2 separate regions of the Homo sapiens genome follow, and region 2 is linked to region 1. Evidence: promoter capture Hi-C in 16 types of primary human blood cells and fetal thymus (Javierre and others, 2016). All regions are on one chromosome and are shown on one strand. The core of a region is centred on a gene start or on the middle of the fragment in contact, and the rest is flanking DNA. Distances in the headings are between cores, read along the strand shown. Region 1 holds the start of IGSF21 (immunoglobin superfamily member 21). Region 2 has its middle 130 kb from the start of LINC01654.

Evidence for each region. Contacts are between HindIII fragments. The CHiCAGO score rates a contact against its expected background, and 5 or more counts as called.
Region 2: a fragment that was not itself captured here is called in contact with the fragment with the promoter of IGSF21 in region 1 in 1 of 17 cell types (naive CD4 T cells); the score reaches 5.3 in naive CD4 T cells.

The regions. Positions count from the first base shown.
Region 1 is chr1:18,104,300-18,110,068 of GRCh38, forward strand. IGSF21 (immunoglobin superfamily member 21) reads left to right here and starts at 3,499. Exons shown (of 10, transcript NM_032880.5): 1 at 3,499-3,899. The coding sequence starts at 3,830. The HindIII fragment of the contact is 15,130 bases long and covers 1-5,769 here.
Region 2 is chr1:17,929,043-17,934,811 of GRCh38, forward strand. No RefSeq gene overlaps it. Among named protein-coding and RNA genes, the nearest start is that of LINC01654, 130 kb to the right of the region's middle. The HindIII fragment of the contact is 2,351 bases long and covers 2,067-4,417 here.

The DNA of each region.
Region 1 (5,769 bases), core at 2,249-4,748:
TGCCTGTGTGTATGTGTGGTGTACTGTGTCTAGGTAAGGTGTTTGGGAACTCTGGTTCTTGAGCTCTTCCTAGGTTGGAATCTGGTCCTATTCATAGCTGTATTGTACTGAGAAAGTTGCTTAACTTCTCTGTGCCTCAGCTTTCCCAACTGTAAGACAGGACTAATGATGGGACCCACCTCATACATTATTGTGTGGTGTCAATGAATTTATATACATTAAATACTTTCACAGCACCCGGCACAAAGAGGCACTTTCATAAGTGCTTCAGACTCTTATTATTGAACCTCACTGGGTGTCCTGCTGCAAACCAGCAGAGCCCATTCCCTTGGGAGCCAGGTTGGGGTAGGCAGTCATGTGCTGCGTCCCTCCCCTTTCCTGGCAGGGAGGGTGGGGACTAGAGGTCACAGAGGGGCCCTTTGACCTCTGGGGCTATTCCCTGGGGTCCGCGGAGTAGAAGTTTGCTTTGTGCTGTAGTGCACTCTGTTGGGAGAGCCTAACTCAGCACCATGAACAGAGGGAGGCTGGGGGCAAACAGCCACACCTCCGCCAAGGACTCCAGCTCAGCCAGTGTCCGAGGAAGAGGCCTGTCCTGCCGTGACTCATGGGTCTGAGTGCCAGGACTGCAAAGTGGAGGCCCTGCCGATCCATTAGGAGACAGGAGCCAAGGGATGTTAAGCAAATTAAAAGCCCCAGGGCTGTCCCGCGTGACCTTTTCCTTTGGCTAAGGCACCCCACCCTGTGCCCTCTGCTAACTGTGCTTCTCAGTGCTCCAGAGATGTCTTTCTCTGGGACAAAGGAAAGGCTTTAAAGCTATATCTTATGAAACAGGAGCTGGAGGAGTGGGCTTCCCTGGAGGGGCCTGTGAAGGCAGCCGTATTAACCACTATGGTTACCATATGGCCATAGACATGCACATCACAGCCAGGCCCCTTTGGGCAAAACCAAACTGCGCACCTGAGCAGACACCTCCTCTCTGATGGGCCCAGTCAGAATATGTGATCCTGGCGCTCCAAGGAGGTTCACTGCCACAGGACGCCTACCAAGTGCCAGACTTGTGCAAGGAGCTGAGGAACAGAGTGGATAAGACTGAATGACCTACCCTCATTCATTCATTCATTCATTCATTCATTCACGCATTCATCCAACTGGTATTTATTGAGGATCCACTATGTGTCAGGCACTGGCTAGGCATAATAATAATTATAATACAGGGTGATGTTAAAGAGAATTGAGGTGATTCAGAAGTCTTGGGGCTGAAGGAGATCTCCAACACACCAGCCCCAATCCTTGGTCCTAGGAAGCAACCCTCCCTTGGCTGTTAGGCCTGCTTTCCTCCTCACTAGCATATCCTCAGATGCCATTCTCTAGCTCCTTCTGCTGGCTCTCTTTTCTAGCTGGTGTGAACCATGGCTGGGAAGAAACATCACTAAGGGGCCCTGGAATCCCACCTGCTCCCTGGCCCTCATCTCCAAGGGCTGGGCTGCAGGGAGCGCAGCCAGGAAGCCCCACCAATTCAGGGTTCACCTGAGGAACTGATGCTGTCCACCTGCCTAGCTGCACGCCGATTTGCAGCTGGGGCCAGAGAGTAGGAATGCCCACACAGCGATGCTTGGCATTTCCCTGCACAACTCAGACCAGCACAAGGAACCGCATGAACCTGATGCTGTTCCCCAGCCAGGGAGCCCCTTCCACAGAGGATTTAGAACCTGGGATGGACTTTTGGGTTTGTTGACTTTTTCTTGGGTCAGAGTGGGGAGGGAGGGCCAGGGAGGAGGCAGTAAGGGACTGTGCCCTGCAGCCTGAGAAGAAGGTGAGGGGGAGAGGTGACCTCAAGCTGACCCTCAGCAGCCTGGAGAAGGGGAGACCTGGGTGGATGCGAGTGAGAGGGAGCAAAGAACAGCAGCCAAAGGGAGAAGAAAGGACCTAAGACTCCAGTGTTCATCAAGTGTTCAAGCCATATGCAGTCCAATCAACCTGGAACCAATTAGTCTGATTCACAAAAAAAAAAAAAAAAAAAAAAAAAAAAAATCCCACTTAGGGACAAACTGTAATCAAACACCTATTTATAAGGGTTTATTATGATCATTATTATTATTTTACTGAGAGGATCATTCTAAAGCCTGTCAGGTGAACGTATGCTTTCAGATCTTCATAAATGCAAATCGCTCCTTCTGGGGTGGGTGAGCAAGCTGAGCCGCAGAGCTGCCTTGGGAGGCGATGGGGTGAGGTTCCAGAGGGCAGGAGGAGGGAGCAGTTCACTTTCATGGACATCTCTGCACAAAGCTCACCCAGAGGCAGCCCAGCAACCACCCATTGCCCACCCCACTCCCTACACTCCTCTCAGAGGGCTGCTGGAGATGGAACTGGCTATAGACCCATTGCCCATGTAGGTAAACGATGCAACAGCCTGACTCAGCAACCTGCCAGAGCTAGGGAAGCTGGAGATTCTCCATAGAAGGCCTGGGTAAAGGGACCCACCTGAGTTCTGAGCAGGTTTTGCCCCTGGTCGTGCTGGTTTTTCTGGGCTTTGCCAATCTTCTGGGTCCCTACCAATGGTGAAATTCTATCTCCTGAACTTCCTCATCTAACCACATCCCCAGTCCACTCCAAGGGCTAGAGTACCCCTCCCCTTCATCCTCGCAGGAGGCCTCAAAGTCCACCGCCAGGGCTGAGGCTCAATGGTGTGTGTGTGTGTGTGTGTGTGTGTGTGTGTGTGCTCGCGTGTGTGTTGGTGGGAGAGTAATGGTAACATACAAGTCCCAAACCTGTTCTTCTCGGACCTGGGAAGAAAAGCTGTCAGGTCTGGCAAAAAGGTGGAAACTTGGTCTCTGCCAGGAGGAAACAATCAGTTCCTCACCCTTCCTGGCTGGATCCTAGCACATGGGAAAAAGACAGAACACACCCCATTTCCGTGGGTCCCTGGGGGAAGGAGCAGCCGTAATTGGGGAAGTTTCAGAACATGGAAACCCCTTAATCTTGCCCAATGAGGGCATTCATCGTTGGCAAGGTCAGAACTCCAGAGCCACACCCTGCCTGCCCTGCTCCCAGGATGGCATCTTTCCCTCTCGGGAGGGAGGCTGCCTCCTTTCATCAGGCTGAGTAGCGGGGAGGGCGATGGTAATCCCGGGGATAGGAGGGGCTAGGTAAAGGCGGATCCGATGGAGCATAGCTTCCAGGGCGGGGTGTTGGGTCACCTGGGTAAGGGTTAAGAAGCTGGAGGCAGCAAGCCAGTTTTGAGTGAGGGGGGACCTGAGTGAGGGGAGAGGGGAGGTTAGGAGGGGGTGAGCTCTCCTTCTCCCTGCAATAAATCGGCTTAGCGGACGAGAGCCGAACAGCCCAGAAAGGATTAAAGAAAAGTCTGTATAATACGCGGAGAGCGCGGCGAGGGGAGGGCAAGGAGGGCGGGGGGGCGGGGAGAGGGGGAGGGACGGAGGGAGGGCGAGAGGAGGGGGGTGCTCGCGCCGCCGGGAGAGGCGAGCGCGAGGCAGAGAGCGCGATTCGGCTCCAAACTCCGGCGCTGCAGCCGATCGGACTCTGGGCCGCGGTGGGCACCGCGCGCAGCTAGGGAGCCGAGAACCGCGGCGAGCCCCGAGGACGCCCAGAGCGCGAGGGTCGCTGCGCCTCGCAGAGCCGGAGCCGAGTCGAGCCGGGCGCCCGGGCTGCCTGGCCGCGGCGGCATGGGGGCGCCCCCGCGGCTCTCCGCGCTGCCCGCCACCGCCTCGGCCAGTGGCCGGAGGCAGGAGCGCGTCTGAGCCCATGGCGAGGGGACCCGCCGCCACCGCCTCCACCCCCGCCGCCCCGCCACCGCCGCCAGCTCCCGGGCACCATGCGAACCGCCCCGAGCCTCCGCCGCTGCGTCTGCCTGCTGCTCGCCGCGATCCTGGACCTGGCGCGCGGTGAGTGCGCGGGCGCCTGGCGGGAGCCGAGCGGTGAACGTGCGCGGGGACGGGGTGCCGGGGGAGGGCGCTGGCCGGGGTCGCTCCGAGAGGCTCGGGCTACGAGCACCGGTCCTGCCCGGGGTCTGTGGAGCTGGTTGGCTCGATGAGGGAGGGAGGACGCCTCTTGGAGAGCGCTCATGGATTTGTGCCAGGGTGTGTGTGTGTGTGTAAATTGTGTGTCTTTGTTGTGTGTCTGGGTGAGGGTGTCCGGGAAGGAGCTGTGTGGGCAGAAGGTGCGGGAGTGTATTTAGAGATGCAAGTGTGTGTGTGCGTGTGTGTGTGATGGTGTGGGGTCTGCGTGTGAGTGAGCGAGGGTCTGGATGGGTGTTAGAGTGTCTGTGTCAGTTACATGGAGAAGGTGTGTGTGTGAGAGTGTGAGCGAATGTTGGGGGGAGGGTGTGAACATGTGCCACCTTCCCTGTGAGGGTGTGAAGTGTGTGAGCTTGTGTCACTGTGGGTGTGAGGTGTTAGGGGGTGGGTATGTGAGGTTTGGCGTTTCACGTGTGTCCCGAGTGTGCAGGTCTCTAGGGGTGTACGACAGCGGATTACTATTTCTGTGTGCACAGGAGATGGGACTGTGACACTGGACAAGAGTCTGCTTATGTGGGATGGGTGGGGGTGCAGGTGCCTGGGAGTCGTGGGCTTCATGGGGCTGGGAGTGTGTGTATGCGTGCCATGGAGCGTGTGGTTATCGTGTGCAGGGAGGTATGGACGCTTCCGGGGCTGGGGAGTTGTGAGCAGCTCAGTGTGTGTGTGTGTGTGTGTGTGTGTGTGTCCCGCCGTGTGGACTTGCTCCCGGGTTAGGCTAAGACAGCTAGAAGGAGGTTGAAGCCGAGCGGGTTCTCCGGAGCCAGTGAGAGGTGGCTCCGCAGCCCCAGGGTCCGCGGCCGGCCTCCCACCCAGTGCCGCCGCGTAGTGGGTCTTAAATGGAGCTGAACCCTTTCGCGCAGTGAGCAGAGAGCCAACGTGAGGCTAAAAGCCAGGAGGGAGGGAGGCGGGACCAGCGAAGAGCCGCAGGCACCGAGACTACAGGCTCCGCGTCCGGGATCCTCCTCGGAGCCTGGTGCCAACCTCAGCCTGGCTGGAGTCAGAGCCTGGCTCCGCCTCGGAGGGGAGCGGGACGCGAGGTGCCAAAAAGTCGTCTTTATGATCAATAAGGTCTCGACCCCGAGCCCCACTGGATGATAGAGGTGGGCATCACCTCTGTCCTATGCCATAGCCTTGTCCCAGCAGGAGGTGCCTACCTAGGCTCTGAGAGTGCCTGCCAGGAAGGGGTGCCCCCTTAAAAATAACCCCAACTCCTTCTACCCCGAAGTCCTTGGGGAGTGCTGGGTCTGCTGATGGGAGAAGCTGCAGAATTTGAGCCCGGAAGGTGGTCCTGACAGCGAGGGGGGAGGGGTTGGTGTAACCCAGAAGGAATGCAAACCCTGTACTTTGTTCCCCTACCCTTGGAACAAGAGACTTTCCTAAGTGGATCAAAATGTCCCCCCTCAACTTTGGGAGGAGGGCTCTAGAGGGAAAGGTTACATGGGGGAGGTCCTCGTTCCAGCGCCGCCGAGAGGGCACTGGGGTTTGTTGAAAGGCACTGGAGCCCTCACCTGGACATTGCAGGGGGCGGGGGTTGGAGGCTGGGGACCTAAGGTAAGCACCCCTTTCCCTGGGAATGCGCAGAACAGAGAGACGCGGCAGGGTGAAGGAGAGGACTGATGAGAAGGGCTTGTTGGGAAACCCTGGCTCCGTCAGGACCCCACCCTGCGAGCTCTCCCTGGAACCCGGGAGCAGGGTTCTTCTGGCTGCCCGGCTGCAGAGAGCTGACCCGGCATCCTGA
Region 2 (5,769 bases), core at 1,992-4,491, 180 kb before region 1:
TGAGAAATGTCAGCTATTTGTATTCTTATTTTTCATCTGGTCCAGCCCCTGCCACCAGACAGGACTGAAGCCAAGCAATGGAGCCTGTTCTTAGAGGTTGAATCTGGAGTTTCCCTCACAAGTGATTCCAGAAAGGAGAGTCCCCCGTCTTGGACCACTGTTGTGAGATCTAAGATTGTAAAGGTTCAGGTGAGTTCTTTGGTGCCCCAGTTTCGTCTTTTGTGAAACAGAGCTGCTTATGCCTACCACGCAGGGCTGCCGGGAGGATGAAGAGGGATAAAGGTGCAAAAGTCCTGTTGTGTGGCTCTTCCCTCCATCGCTGCCACCCTCAATGGACTAACAGGCCTCTACTATCCTGAAAATCTCCAGCAAACCAGAGCACTTGTTGAGCACCTGCTGTATGTGGGCATCATGCCAGCCTCTGGGACTGGAGGCAGAAGACAAACCTCGAACTGCCTGCTCTCAAGAGCAGAGGTGCAAACCCAACATACATTAAACCAAAACAGTGGCTTCAGGCTCTGGGATATGATGAATCCTTCCTGGGGACTAATAAATCTACAGCCGAGTGGTGAGATACAGTTCCAATCCCCAGAGGAGCTGAAGAACAAGAAAGGAGCTTCTGAGAAATGGATGGCACAGTCTCACTCAGGGGCTGGCGCTGGCCCAGCCATTTTGACTGGGAAGTGCACTTTGGGGTCTAACCTGACTCTTTCCTGCTGCAAAAGGATACTGTTTTCTCCTGATCCCGTCATCCCAATGATGGATATTATGAACTAGAAGCCGGGTTGACAAATATAAGGTCAGACTAGCACATAATTAGATGGACTTCCTTGTGGGACTCAGCAATGACTCAGAAGGCAATTCCCAAAGCAGATCCGGCCATGTCCGGAGCCCTGGCAGCGCTGAGCCCCCATCATGACACCCTGGAGGGGTGGTGTGGATGGCAGTAGGTGAGCACGAGGCCATTGGTGCCAAGATCCATCTCTCTGCTTCACATGTACTCCTTGGAGATGGATTTTCATTTAAAACATAATTTTAAGAAATTTTGGATTTGCTAGAGATGGGGTCTGGACACACTCAGAAAGGACAGAATTGTTCTTAGTCTTAGCCCCCTTCCCCAGTTACTAATTATCACTGAGCTAACGATCAGTGAACATGACTGAGCTGCCCATTCAGCAGTTGGGATGAGCTGCCTTTAAACCTAGTTCAAAATCCACCCCAATTTGGGGAAAGCATCCTTTTGGTCTGAACAAGGCTGGTGAGTAGAACAGCCCATGGTGAAATGGTTTTCTCTCCTTGCTCCCCATTGGGATGAATGGCCCTTCCTTCCTCCCTGTCTCCTGGCCCAGCCCCTAGTGTGTTGGTTTGTTCCTGGGTGATGGGGAGGATTCTCCACTTCCCGGTCACCCCTGGGATGTGTTGCTCAGAAAAGTCCCCTCTTTCTGGCCTCTCCTGGCCGCTGCTTCCTGCTCCAGCTCTGATTCTTGCCTTCATTTCTGCATCTGGACAGCAGGCTGGGCCAAGCTTGCCAGTGGGGAGTGGTGGCTATGTGGGTGGGCTCTCAGGCAAGTGATTTTGCCTCCCTGAGCCTCAGTTTCCTCCACTGTAAAATGGAGATAATAAAGATGGTGCCTTCCATGAGAGAGATGCATTTAAGGCACTTAGAACAAGATTCAGACACAACGCAAGTGCTTATTAAATGAGAGCTGTTACTATTTCTGTTCCCTGTCTCGGGGACTGGCTGGGAGGCCTCATTCCAGGCCCAGGGGATCTGGCAGATCCCAGCCCAGGACTCCAGGAAGAGCAGGAAGGTGACAACAACCACATGGCTGCCAGTGGAGAGGCTTCTCTATGCTCTATGACCCACCCGGCCCTGCAGATAGAGAAGCCAGCAAGACCTGGGAGGTCCTGGCCCTCGTGAAGTTCACATTCTAGTAGCAAGAGGAAACAGACAGCTAACACATAAGCTCCTCAGTCCTGACCCACTGCCTCCTCCATGTATCACCGTCTGCCTTACTGCAAAGTTGATGTATCTGGTGTGCTCTCTCTCCAAACACCAGACTCCAAGCTTCCTGCGGGCACAGACTCAGACTTGCTCATGCTGCCTACCCAGCACCTGGTATAGTGCCTGGCACAGAGCAGGTGCTTCATAAATACTTGTTGAAGGAATGGATGGCTGCATGCAGGCAGGATGGCCTTGCAAGTCCTTCCTGGGGCATGGGATGGCCACACTCTGTGGCTTTCAGTCTCCTGACTCTGGGAGGCTCTTCCTTGCTGTAAAGTGGCAAGGCTGATCTATTCTCATTGCTCCTGGTCTGACTTTCAGCTGGGGCTGAAGTGCTTGACCAGATCCGCCTCCATGGCTGTAATTCCTCTCCCTGCCACCCAGCCTGCCCAGGGTGACAGAGGAGAGCCAGTGGCTTCCCTCTGCCTCTGCCTTCCCTCCAGCACTCTGAGTGGTAGACTCTGCCCTCTCCTCCCTGCATGCACCTCATAGCATTGGTGAATCCTGTGCCTGCCATTCTATGTGGAGTCTTGGTACCCAAAGGTGAATTCCCAAAAACAGACCTGGTTTCAACCCACCATTTACCCACATGTGACCTTGGCCGAGCCCCTTCATCACTCTGAGCCTCGGTTTTCTCATCTAGATAATGAATAGTAGCAATTCCAATCCCAAAGGATTGGTGTGAGGGTTAAGTCTGGAGACAGTGTCCCATGGTGGTTGAAAACCTCACCTTTGAGTATGTTAGAGGGGTTTCAAAAACAGGTGTGGACAATTCTTAGCTGCGTGACTTTGGGCAAGTGACAGTATTCTACTAAACATCAAGTTATTTCTATAGAATGGGATAATAGTAAAAATAATATTGAATCCATTATTTTTCTGTGATGATTAAAAGAGGTAAGGCATGGAAAGTTTATTAGTCCATTCTCACGCTGCTATAAGGACATACCTGAGACTGGATAACTTATAAAGAAAAAGAGATTTAATGGACTCACAGTTCCACATGGCTGGGGAGGCCTCACAATCATGGCGGAAGGTGAAGGAGGAGCAAAGGCACATCTCACATGGCAGCAGGCAAGAGAGCTTGTGCAGGGGAACTGCCCTTAATAAAACCGTCAGATCTCAGAGACTTATTCACTATCATGAGAACAGCACAAGGAAAACCCGCCCCCACGATTCAATTACCTCCCACCAGGTCCCTCCCACGACACATGGGGATTATGGGAGCTACAGTTCAAGATGAGATTTGGGCAGGGACACAACCAAACTGTATCAGAAAGCATTTGGTACTGTGCTTGGCACATAAACAGTTTACGCCTGTTGGTTCTTCTTTGTCTCTTTGGCTGGGCATTTAGTAGGTGCAAAAATAACAGTAAATACTTCAACTTGCTCTCTTTAGAAGTCAAGGCTTTTGTTGTTGTTGTTGTTGTTATGAAGATGAATATTGGGAAGATTTGAATTTGCCAATTTCTGCTGACCTAGGAGGTTTACTGTCCTGGGTGTGGCTCTCCTTCTGTAATTGTCAAAAGAGCTCTTCTCGTCAAATGATTATCGACAAGAGCAGAATCCTGTCAAACAGTGTTTAGAGTCCTTCCACACCTCTTATCTCACTGTGTCCTTCACTATCCCTATTTGACAGGAGAGAACATCAAAACCCAGAGAGGTTTGGCAAGTTGTCTGGGGTCACACAGCACATGGATACAAACAACACTTCCAGGCTCTTGTTAAGTGATCAGAGTGCCAGGCCACCAGCATCACCGTTATCACCATTACCATCCCCTGTATGTGAATGGGATGTTAAGGTCTTTCAGCTATTTCCATAACTCCATCTCTCATGATCCTTTCAACAGCCCTGTGAGCTGTGCCGGACAGGACCAATCACACGTTACTGCCGTTTTTCAAAGGGGAAAACCTGAGACTCAGAGGAGGCTCAGACAGGCCTAAGGTCACAAAGGGCCAGTGGCCTCATGACACCCAGCCTGGTGCTGTGGCCTCCCACGATGGTGTCGGCCTGGCTTCCCTGTGTCCCCCACCTCCCACTCTTCAGCTTCTTTCCCACCCATCCACCCACTCCCAAACTCCACTCTGAGAGGCCTCAGCTGGGAGCATTGAAGGGCTGGGCCCCTTTTATGAGACCTCAGAAACTGCATTATGGGCCTGAGACCCCCAAACACTAACATGCAATGATTTTTTCCTTCTCTAGAGGAGCAGAAAAGATTCATAGCTTGCGACTATTGACTCTGCTTTTAACCAAGTTGCGTAGAAGCAACGAGTGTCACTTCTAGGAAGATGGATGATGTCTCTGAAGCAGGGGATGAGAGCCCAGAGGTTTGCGACTTCCCTGGTAAAAGTTTTTTCTTGTTTAGAAATCACTTTGGGGTTCGAAAAATATGGATCCATTGGAGAACGTGGTGAAGCTTGTCATGGCGAGTTTTCAGTGAATTAAAGGAGCCGGAATTTAATGTCATTCTGGCCGCGTCATTTCTTCCCCAAGGAGGGCAATATACGAGGTCAGACCAGCTCCCTACACTGGGAACGTGCACTTGATCAAGTCCCTGACCAGCTCTGAGCCCTGGAACCCACTAGGCTTTTCCGAGGATTAAACGAGTTGATGTAGACAAAGCACTTGAAACCCTGCCCAGCACATAGCAGGCTCAAGGTCAATGTAAACCATTTATTATTACTATTCAGAGTATTCCTAGGACACCAGGTGGAGGGGAGGAGCCGTGCAGATAATATAGTTATATTTGAGTTTGGTGGAGGGAATAAAAGGAGAACAAATCTCTCCTGTCTCTGTTTCTGTCTCTCAGTGTCCTGACCCTTGCATCCCAATTGCATTAAAAAAAAACAAAACAAAACAAAAAAAAGAACAACAACAACAAAAAGCAAAACAGTAAGAATAGCAACAACAACAAAAGCAGAGCTCAGCTCAGGGAGGGGCCTCCATGTCTGGGCAGGTTCTCAGACAGAAGCCAGGGAGAAAACAGCCCAGAGGTGAAGCAGCAGTGCCAACACCAATTTCACAAACCAGCTGTTTCACCGGCCGTGGAATGTCATGGGTCTCTGGACTCCGGGCTGGGAGCCCATAGCTGGGGCCTGCAGTGCTGTGTTTAAACATCATGGGCTGTGATGGGCTTGTGTGCAGGGAGTGGAGGGTCTGGACACACTCAGGAAGTGTCATCTCTGAGCCTGGGGCACTCTATCTTGTCAGGAGAGACCTGAGCTGATGAGGCTTCCCCATTAGCTCCATCACCGGCTCCTCTGGCTTTGAGAGGGAGCGGCTGCATCTCCCCTCCAGGATCAAAGCCACCCCTCTCTTTCTTTCCTATTCCTGCCTTTTGTCTGCTCTTCTGTCTTGCCCAGAAATGATCTGCGGGAGAGCAGGGCTGTGTCAGGGAGTGGGGCTGAGGTGTCTACTCCAAGCTTTTGTGCTATCCAGACCCCTTCCTGCGCACCCGCACCTGCTGCCAGGCTGGGACAACCTCCTTCTGGATCCAAGGGCTCTCAGCCGGAGGGCACAGGGCCATGACAACGTGTCATTAGAATGACTTTCAGAAAGTGCCTATTATGTGCCAGGCACCTACCTGCAGTGTCTCTTTCAATTCTCCCAGTAGCCTGCTGAGGAAGGTGTGATGATCCCACTGTAGAGATGAGAAAACTGAGGCTCAGAGAGATAAAACAAATTGTCCCAAATCATAGTTTGAAAGAAACAGAGTCAGGATTTGAACCCAGCTATGTGTGATTCCATTCTTAACCACGACACTGCC